Regions from separate parts of the Homo sapiens genome. Here regions 2 and 3 are each linked to region 1. The links are contacts of gene promoters, found by promoter capture Hi-C in blood cells and fetal thymus (Javierre and others, 2016). All regions are on one chromosome and are shown on one strand. The core of a region is centred on a gene start or on the middle of the fragment in contact, and the rest is flanking DNA. Distances in the headings are between cores, read along the strand shown.

Region 1 (3,073 bases), core at 510-3,009:
ACTTAGATTTCAGAAGATGTATGGAAACACCTGGATGCTTAGGTAAAAGTTTGCTGCAGAAGTAAGGACCTCATGGAGAACCCCTGCTAGGGCAGTGTGGAAGGGAAATGTGGGCTGGAGCCCCCACACAGAGTCCCTCCTGGGGCACTGCCTAGTGGAGCTTTTAGAAGAGAGCCACCATCCTCCAAACCCCAGAATGGTAGCTCCACTGACAGCTTGTGCCATGCACCTGGAAAAGCCACAGACACTTAATGCCAGCCTGTGAAAGCAGCCAGGAGGGAGGCTGTACCCTGCAAAGCCACAGGGTCAGAGTGCCCAAGACCATGGGAACCCACCTTTTGCATCCACATGACCTGGATGTGAGACCTGGAGTCAAAGGACATCATTTTGGAGCTTTAAAATTTGACTGCCCTGCTGGAATTAGGACATGCAGGGGTCCTGTAACTCCTTTGTTTTGGCCAACTTATCCCACTTGCAGTGGCTTTGCCCAATACCAGTATCCCCATTGTATCTAGGAAGTAACTAGCTTGTTTTTGATTTTACAGACTCATAGGTGGAAGGGATTTGCCTTGTCTCAGATGAGACACTGGACTGTGGACTTTTGGATTAATACTGAAATGAGTTAAGACTTTGGGGGACTATTGGAAAGGCATGATTGGTTTTGAAATGTGAGGACATGAAGTTTGGAGGGACAAGTGGTGGAATGATATGGTTTGGCTCTGTCTCCACCCAAATATCAACTTGAATTGTATCTCCCAGAATTCCCACATGTTGTGGGAGGGATTCAGGGGGAGGTAATTGAATCATGGGTACGGGTTTTTCCCATGCTAATCTCATGATAGTGAATAAGTCTCATAAGATCTGATCAGTTTATCAGGGGATTCTACCTTTACTTTCTCCTCATTTTCTCTTGCCACCGCAGTGTAAGAAGTGCCTTTCACCTCCTGCCATGATTCTGAGGCCTCCCCAGCCATGTGGAACTGTAAGTCCAATTAAACCTCTTTTTCTTCCCAGTTGGGTATGCTTTTATCAGCAGCATGAAAACGGACTAATACATTTATGAGGAATATTTTTTATTAATTTCTGCTGGGTTTTAATTATTTGATTAAAGATACTAAGAGGAAGATATAAATAACTGCTGATTGAAATGTTTCATTCTGGAAATCAGAGTATTTCCCTTGTTTTCAACAAATTCTCAAAGCCTTCAAGCACTCTGGAAACTTTCTGCTATAGGAAGAAGATATTCCTCTTTTTATGATGGATGAAAAATAAATGGAATATAGCCACAAGATGAATAAGTAGCCCAATATATTTTCAGGTACCTATTAATATATCACAATTTGAATATGATTTTTCCCAAATCAATGGATAGTAGAGAGTACATATTTAAATAATTGTTTTTATTATCTTAGAATATGAGTAGCTCATTTACCTATGGCAAATTTTTAGTGTTATTCCCAAAACCTCTATAGAAACGAAGATTTAGAAATAGCTGTTTACTTGTGAAATACTTATCACTTTCTATTATAAAAGTATAAACTAGTTTATAGTCCATATTCAACGAGAACATTGAAAGATTAAAGTATGCTATTTTATTTTTGCTAGTCCTTTGTAGTTAATATGCTAAAACTGAGTAAGGGAAATACAGTGTTCACTCAGGTAAACTGTAGTTTACCTGAGTGAACATTGGCCTGCAGTTACATGTGAGGTCATTTATGATGAGCAAACAATGGATTAGGTAACAATGAGGAAAATTCTAGAAGTTTGAGTTTGTGTGCTTACTAGCAACCACTTTCAGCGTTTCTGCAAAGCTAGAGAAGGTATCTTCTAATTTAAATGTCTTTAAGAATTATCTATTGCGTAATATACTGTCAACAGGAGGTCAGTTTTAAAGGAATACTACTGATAGCCTGAAAGACTGTGGAAAAGAAATTATTTTTCCCCCTTACACACTGATAGTTCTTGTATTTGCATTCCTGAAATTCATATATATTTTTCAAAAAAAAAAAACCATTGGATTAGCAGCAAGAGAGTTGAAAATGGCAGAAGTTGGGAATGACTGCTATTTCTTTTTTAATTCCACATGCATAAAGGTAAATATTGTACAATTGACAGTACTTCACATGCTTAATCTTTTTAGTAGAATGAAGGGAGATATGGCAATAACTTGTATTGCTGAACAAAAATTTACTATTTTCTTGCAAGATATCTTATATTTGTAAAATCTGGAGTAACAGCTTATCATGTATTTTTGACATACTGAATTTCTCTGAAGAAATCTGAGATAATTTAAAATTATTATTTGTTTGAAACTACCCTTATATATACCAGTTATATGTCTATAGCTTTTGAATCTTCATGTGGCACTTTTGCCTATATTATGACACCTTGAGACATTAAATTCCTAATATTAAAACATCATAGGTTACAAGATATTGTTTTAGTTAATATGATTCCAGTCATTATAATTCAAATAGTTGAATTCAGGTAAGTGTCAATCTTAGTGTAATAAATCTGTTTTCCTATTTGAAATTTATTAACCCAATTACTGAATTTTCCTCTGTCAAAAGTCTAAGTAATAACAAATATTTAAATATCATTAAAAAAGAAAATTAATATAAACAAATTGGCCACATATAAATTAAACTTTATAAAGTTAAATGGGAAAAACTGAGAATTCCTCCAATGTATTAGGATGTATAGATCTTAGTAAAACCAGATAAAGGTAGAAACTCAATATTTGGAGCTTTGTGCTCATGCAAGAAATAATCCAGTGAAAAAGATGATATGTCTGGTTTCAAGTGTTTCCTCTCTGTTAGGAAACCTGAATGGAGTCAACCTCTCTGACCACAGAAATTGGATTCACTTCTATTACCTGTTAGATTAAATGCTAGGATAATAAAGAATAATAACAGATTTCATGTCCCAGGTGGGCAGAGTGTTTTGTCTATTTCACTGCTGTATCCCCAAGTACTTAGCAGAGTGGCTAATGAGTAAGTTACCAGTAAATAATTAAATGAATAAATAATAATAATAGCTCACAATACCTTATATCACATCATTTTTACAGCTA
Region 2 (2,982 bases), core at 118-2,617, 920 kb before region 1:
CTTCTTCCTCTTACTACTATTCAGCCTATACATTTGTCAGGCCAGGTCGTTAATAATGGTAGGCTTCTATCCTCTCAGCATAAAAGATGGTAATTGACCTCTAGGGAATATTTGAGGAAAAATAATTGTATCATGAGACTAAAAGGGAATTATGTCTACTTCTATTTGCTTTGTTCAGAGTAGGTGCTCAACAAATATTTGACATTTGTATGATATTGCTCTCATTTTACTATCAAATTGGAAAATGGTGAGGACTAGCGTGAAAAAAAAAAACAAAAATCTGGGGAAGTTAGTATTTATTTCCTGTTTTTGGACAGAAAGACTTCAATTCATTTGGTATCATTTCAACAACTCAGACCAAGGTAGATGTCTTTGTCCAGAAAGAACACTACCTGTTAGTTCAATTTGGTTCAAAAGTATTGAGTATCTATCAAATGCCATGATAAGCACTGTGGTATCATGTAGAAGTAGAAAGATGTGCCAGGAGTAGAAAGATGATCCATTGAGGATTCCATAGTCTTAAGTAGAGTCAGGCATTAAAATATACCAGGTGTGTTTCTAGAAGTGCTTCCTAGAGTTGCTGAGGCCATAGCTTGACCTTGAGCATGAAGAAAAATTAGCCAGGCAAAAATAGCTTTGGCCATGTGTGTGGTTTGGCCTACTTTTGGACAATATTGAGTTACCAGTGCTTAAGAGTGAAGATTGATTTTTACTTTTAAGTGCTCCATTTTGACAGCTTTCTTGAGCATGCAGATCCAAGAGACAAAGGAGGACGTTAAAGAGAAGTATGCTTACCGACCACTAAACTCATTCTGTTGCAAGGCAGATTTTGTATTATCCCAGTGGAAGAATGCCCATGGTTTAGCACTAACTTTAAGGTCCGACCTGGACCTTATCCCACATGCTTTCTTGGCATTCAGACTTCAGTAGCCTATATCAGGAGTTGGCAAACTTCCTCTATAAACCAGATAGTAAGTAGATTTTGCAGGCTGGAATGACTCTGTTGCAAGTACTCAACACTGCTGTTGTAGTTTGAAAACAGCTAGCTCTCAATATGTAAATGAATTGTGCATGACTTTTTCTGGTAAAACTTTATAAAAACAGAAAGAGTGCTGGATTTGGTTTCTGGGCCATAGTTTGCTGATACTATAGCATTCAATAAATATATCTGGCTATTATCTGAGGTCAAAAAGCATTTCAAAGTAAATGTCAGAACTTCAAATATTAGATATTAAAACCAAGATTCTAAACTATTTTCAAATTCTTCTTATTCAGTTTCCACTTTACATAAAACTACTATGCTAGAGAATGGTGATGAAAAGAAATGAAACTTGGTGGTTTGTCTAAGGACCTTACAATCTCTTAGAAAAGCATATGTTTTATACATAAGGAGATACAGGCCCTCAGAAGTGACTTGCTTTTTGTTAGATAGTAGCCAAACCAGAACTCAATATCATACCTCTGTGAGTTCAGGCCTCTTTCTTCTACCTCAGCACTTTGTTTCATGAGTGAAGATTCTTGGGTCAGAACGGAGTTTATGAAGAAAAGAAGATGTATGATTATTCCAGGTTCTCACACCCTTGAATCTGTGCTTCAGCCACCTGCTAGAAATAACTTAAACAAAGAGGTGGGAGCTGTTTTCTGAACAATGCTCAGTCATGCTGTGACTCATACCAACTTCCCTTGTTGCCTCGAGTTTACAGTTCATCGTATATTTACTTGTATATAGCTGTCTATCTGCCCTCAAAATGAATTTTGTTGTCATTTGGCAAAAGAATCTCATTGTTTCCTCAGATCTTCATAATACTCACAGATAGGAAAACAAAGACTTACCATTGCTAAGGCTGAGGAAATAATTGGGAACATTATTCTATGGTACTTTGATTTGAATTCAAATAATGTAATGCAACTGCCATATCCAAGGTCTTTTTGCAGTCTCCTTCTTATTGCTCTCTCTGCGGCATGTAGTAGGGCTGTTTGCCACTCTATTTTGGGGGGATATTTTTTTGAAACAGTGTCTCGCTCTGTCACCCAGGCTGGAGCGTAGCGGTACAACCACAGCTGACTGCAGCCTTCATCTCCCAGGTTCAATCGATCCTCCCACCTAGGCCTCCTGAGTAGATGAGACTATAGGTGCACACCACCATATCTGGCTAATTTTTGTATTTTTTATAGAGATGGGGTTTTGCCGTGTTGCCCAGGCTGGTCTCAAACTCTTGACCTCAAGTGGTCTGCCTGCCTTGGAATCCCAAAATGTCTTTTTGGGAAATTCTCTTAAGTTCCATGACACAGAACTCTCTTCTCCTGAAATGAAGACATTTCCCAAAGAACAGTCCTGAACCCTCTCTATTCTGAGTTCTTTATCATCTTTCAGCCCTTATCTATTCTCAGGGCTTTAACTCTTACCTTTGCTAATTGAAGATGGAGGAAAAGAGGAGAGAGATAACGTTTATTTGGTACTTAAAATGTGTTGAGAATCTAGAGATAGAAAACACAGCTCCTTCCTTTAAGGATTCACAATGTTGAGGGAACTACTTGAGAGAGACAGAGAGAGAGAGAGAGGATATTGACTCTACAGCTCATAGATGCTAGTAGAGGTGTGTGCACAGGGCACGGGGGCAAAAGGTGAACACCTCTCAGAGCCTCAGGTGTGGAGCAATGGCATGAAGGCTCTCCCGAAGAGGGGTAGTTGTGCTGAATATAGAAATCTGAATAACTTATCAGGATGTAGAGGGATAAGTTTGACTCCCAAGACTGGATTTGCTGCTCTTCAGTATTCACAGACCATGGCAACTTTGATACTAGTTTATGACTGCACATCTTCCTATGGCCTTCCTCCCTAGATCAAAGCTTCTGGAAGGCATCATTGTTCCTCATTGCATTTCTAGCCCCTAAGCTGTGTCTGGCACCTGATAGGGGCTCAGTCATATTTACTGAGGGAGAGAAATGATTATTCCTACTTTATCACCATGAAAATGAGTC
Region 3 (3,158 bases), core at 635-3,134, 940 kb before region 1:
ATCTTAGTAGGCTATGCAAAATAAAACAATAAAGAAAAACACCCATAACATTAGAAAAATGGTTACTTCTAGAGAGTGGAAGGAATAGGTAGAGGGAATAGGGATGCAAGCTAGATTTCTTTAAATATGCTAGATTGATAAATTTGATTTTAAAACCACATAAATATTTCACAAAATTAAAAACTCAATTCAATTGAAAAATCTCTATCAACTAAGAAAAACCACAAATGTATGTTCAGTTTGTGGGATAGCCACATGGTGAAGAAGTATTCTAAATGGTTTTAAAACCCAGTAACGTGACTGTAGTAATACTGCAGGTCGAGTAGGTGTTTTATTCTACCACTATTGTGTGATAATCTGGAAACAGACAAATGAGTAGCTATGTGATGGCTTAATTCAGTTATCCCTGTGTCCTTGAGAGCCAGGTTTGTCATCCTCAAAATAGGAGAAAGGAGACACAGAAATAAGATAGAAGAGGTTAAGTAAAAATCCTGTAGTCTTGAATTTAAATTGGAAGATATAGTAGGGATTTTGATGTGATTTATCTTAAAAATAATTCCTAGCTTAGTCTAATGAAAAGGCCTAGAAACCATGGTTAACCAAAGAGTAATAAGCCCTCTAACACTCGGATTTTTATTCTGAAATACTATTTCCCACTAAAGCAAACCACAATTCCTGGGACAGGAAATGTACAAGATGAGTTTGAAATATTTTACCAAGGAGGCTATTAAACACTATTAAGGTAGTGTTAAAAAGATTCAGGAATCAACCTAAAGAAGATCCACTGGCAAAAGAGAAAACAATTCCAATTATACAAGAAAAACCATATATTCTATAGTTGTTTGAGCAGTGTTTTATATATAAGACTACGTAAACTCTTAGTCATCATTTTTACAATTTCTTTTTATCTGCTGATTTTTGTCTGATTATTCTTTCAGTAACTGGACCTGTATCCATATATTACAATAAATGCAACTTCATAAAAAGATGAAGCAATCTGATTATCAATAAAGATGTAAGCTGCAATGACTTTAATACTAAATACATTTAAATCAATGGGTTCATAATAATACTTATCCAAAAAAAAAAAAGAAAGCTTACCATCAACAAAATGTACTAGCTTCAGAATGCGGAGAACCAATTTATTCTTTTTAAAATTTAGAAGTTGGGAGAAGGATTAAGCATTTACCCTATGTTTCCTATGTTGTACCATTAAGTAACCAAATGGAAAGCAAGGGAAAGTTTCTCATTATAGAAATATTTTAAGAAATAAGTGAAGAAATGATAGAATTGCAATATTTTTCTCATTCTTCCCCAGCCCCAGTGATCCCCATTAGGGCTCAAGACCATGGCATCAATTACAGCTTATAAAATAAAAGAGAGACAACGTGACTTCTGATGGAACAGTGCATCATCTCTAAGGTAGCCTTGCAAAAAAAATATCAAATCTGAATCGGATCATGCCTTAGATTTAACAGTTGACAGAAAAAATAGAGAACATGGGAATCTCCTAATGACACCACAGGGATGCAATTAGAAAAATCCTGACTGAGGGAAATTTTAAAGATCTCAAAAGATCTAATGATTCAGTCTTTCTGACAAATAGGTATCAAGAGAATAAAATGAAAATGCCTATAAATTAAGATAGATTTATGGAACTTATTAATCACATTCGATGTGCTAAACTGGTAAATAAAGGGAAAGAATCAACCATTTATCTTGTGTTTCCTATTCAAACTGGGATAATCAAAATAGAATTTCTTCTCCGAGTCCCTGAGAATGGGGCACGTATTTAACCAAATCACAAACTACGTTTATTAACCACGTAACTTATTCATCACACTTTGTTATTCTCTGGGATTTGTAGTTTCACAAACCAGCACCTGCCTTCTGATTCTCTTTTCCAGCCTGTATTTTGGACACTGAACCAATCGCATGGAGATTTATTTTTTAGCTGGTGAATCTTTCATTATGTAAATGTTAATGTATTATTAATGATAATAATAATGCTAATAATAATGTGACTAATTTCTTAAGTCTTCCTTATGTGCAAGGAACTGTGTATTGTGTCATTTACTTGCCCAGTGATAGTAATGTAGGCATTTTAGGATTCCCATCTTACAGATGAGGGAACCAAGGCTTTAAAAATTTAATAAATTGCTTGTGAGCCCACAGCCAATATCAAGCTAGAAACGTGCACCTGAGAACATGATTCCCTGTCCAGGGCTGTTACTTTCACCAAGTACTTAATTTGACATAAATGTAAAGGAAGAGATTGCCTTTTTGGTTAAATGTTCTCTGACACTAGAAATACAGTTAAAGGCTCTTAAAAGGCTCTATAGCTTCTAAGATGAATAACATGAATTGAAAATACAATGAAAAGTGTACCCCTTTTGTAGCTGGGGGATTCTTGCCTTTGCATCTAGACTGGAGTTCTGCTTTAAATGGGTTGCCATTTCAGGATTGCTTTAGGGATCAATGATAGTAAAGAGGAATGTTTTAGTCTAATAATATTAACCTGAATATATAAAATGTGCTATCTAGGGACAAAATGTACTTTTGCATTAGAGAATGAGAAAGGAAAAAAAATTAAAAACTGGAGCAGAGAGGTAGAAAGGTGAAGAGGAAAATAGGTTATGGAAATGAGGAGTCAGATTGGGAAATAAGCTTGATGAATAATTAGTGAGAGGGCAATGGGGTAGGTGTAAGGCTGGGCTCACTTTGCAACCTGCGTGCTGCGTGGAACCTGGAAAACCACTACATACTGTATAAAGTTTCCTTTTTTTGTCTTTAATGACAACAAGTCAAACACTACTAATGTCTCATAGAGGCCTGGGAGGCTACTGCACAGATCAGGTAATGACATTTATCTTACACCTACTCAGCATACAACTTCTGGGTTTTGGCATTCAGTTAAGATTCACTTGGAACCATATGGATGATACTGGCAATTATGTCACACTCTATTCAGGATGCAGTAGAATTTAGCAATGTTGTATCAAGATCCTATCATGGACTGTGACTTACTATTCTCACAAAATGAGAATGGTTTGGAACCTTTGACCTCCAAGAGCCATTCTTGAATCTATGATCCAGCTAGCTCCAGGAAGATGACTGGAAAATAGATTCTTAGGTTGTGTTTCAAAATACCAAAATGT

Evidence for each region. Contacts are between HindIII fragments. The CHiCAGO score rates a contact against its expected background, and 5 or more counts as called.
Region 2: a fragment that was not itself captured here is called in contact with the fragment with the promoter of C12orf50 in region 1 in 1 of 17 cell types (M0 macrophages); the score reaches 6.3 in M0 macrophages.
Region 3: a contact is called between a fragment that was not itself captured here and the fragment with the promoter of C12orf50 in region 1, in 4 of 17 cell types (M0 macrophages, M2 macrophages, M1 macrophages and 1 more). The highest score is 7.9, in M0 macrophages.

The regions. Positions count from the first base shown.
Region 1 is chr12:88,028,087-88,031,159 of GRCh38, reverse strand. C12orf50 (chromosome 12 open reading frame 50) reads left to right here and starts at 1,759. Exons shown (of 13, transcript NM_152589.3): 1 at 1,759-1,820. The HindIII fragment of the contact is 7,634 bases long and covers 1-3,073 here.
Region 2 is chr12:88,943,163-88,946,144 of GRCh38, reverse strand. No RefSeq gene overlaps it. Among named protein-coding and RNA genes, the nearest start is that of LINC02458, 75 kb to the left of the region's middle. The HindIII fragment of the contact is 2,971 bases long and covers 1-2,852 here.
Region 3 is chr12:88,971,931-88,975,088 of GRCh38, reverse strand. No RefSeq gene overlaps it. Among named protein-coding and RNA genes, the nearest start is that of LINC02458, 46 kb to the left of the region's middle. The HindIII fragment of the contact is 1,571 bases long and covers 1,099-2,669 here.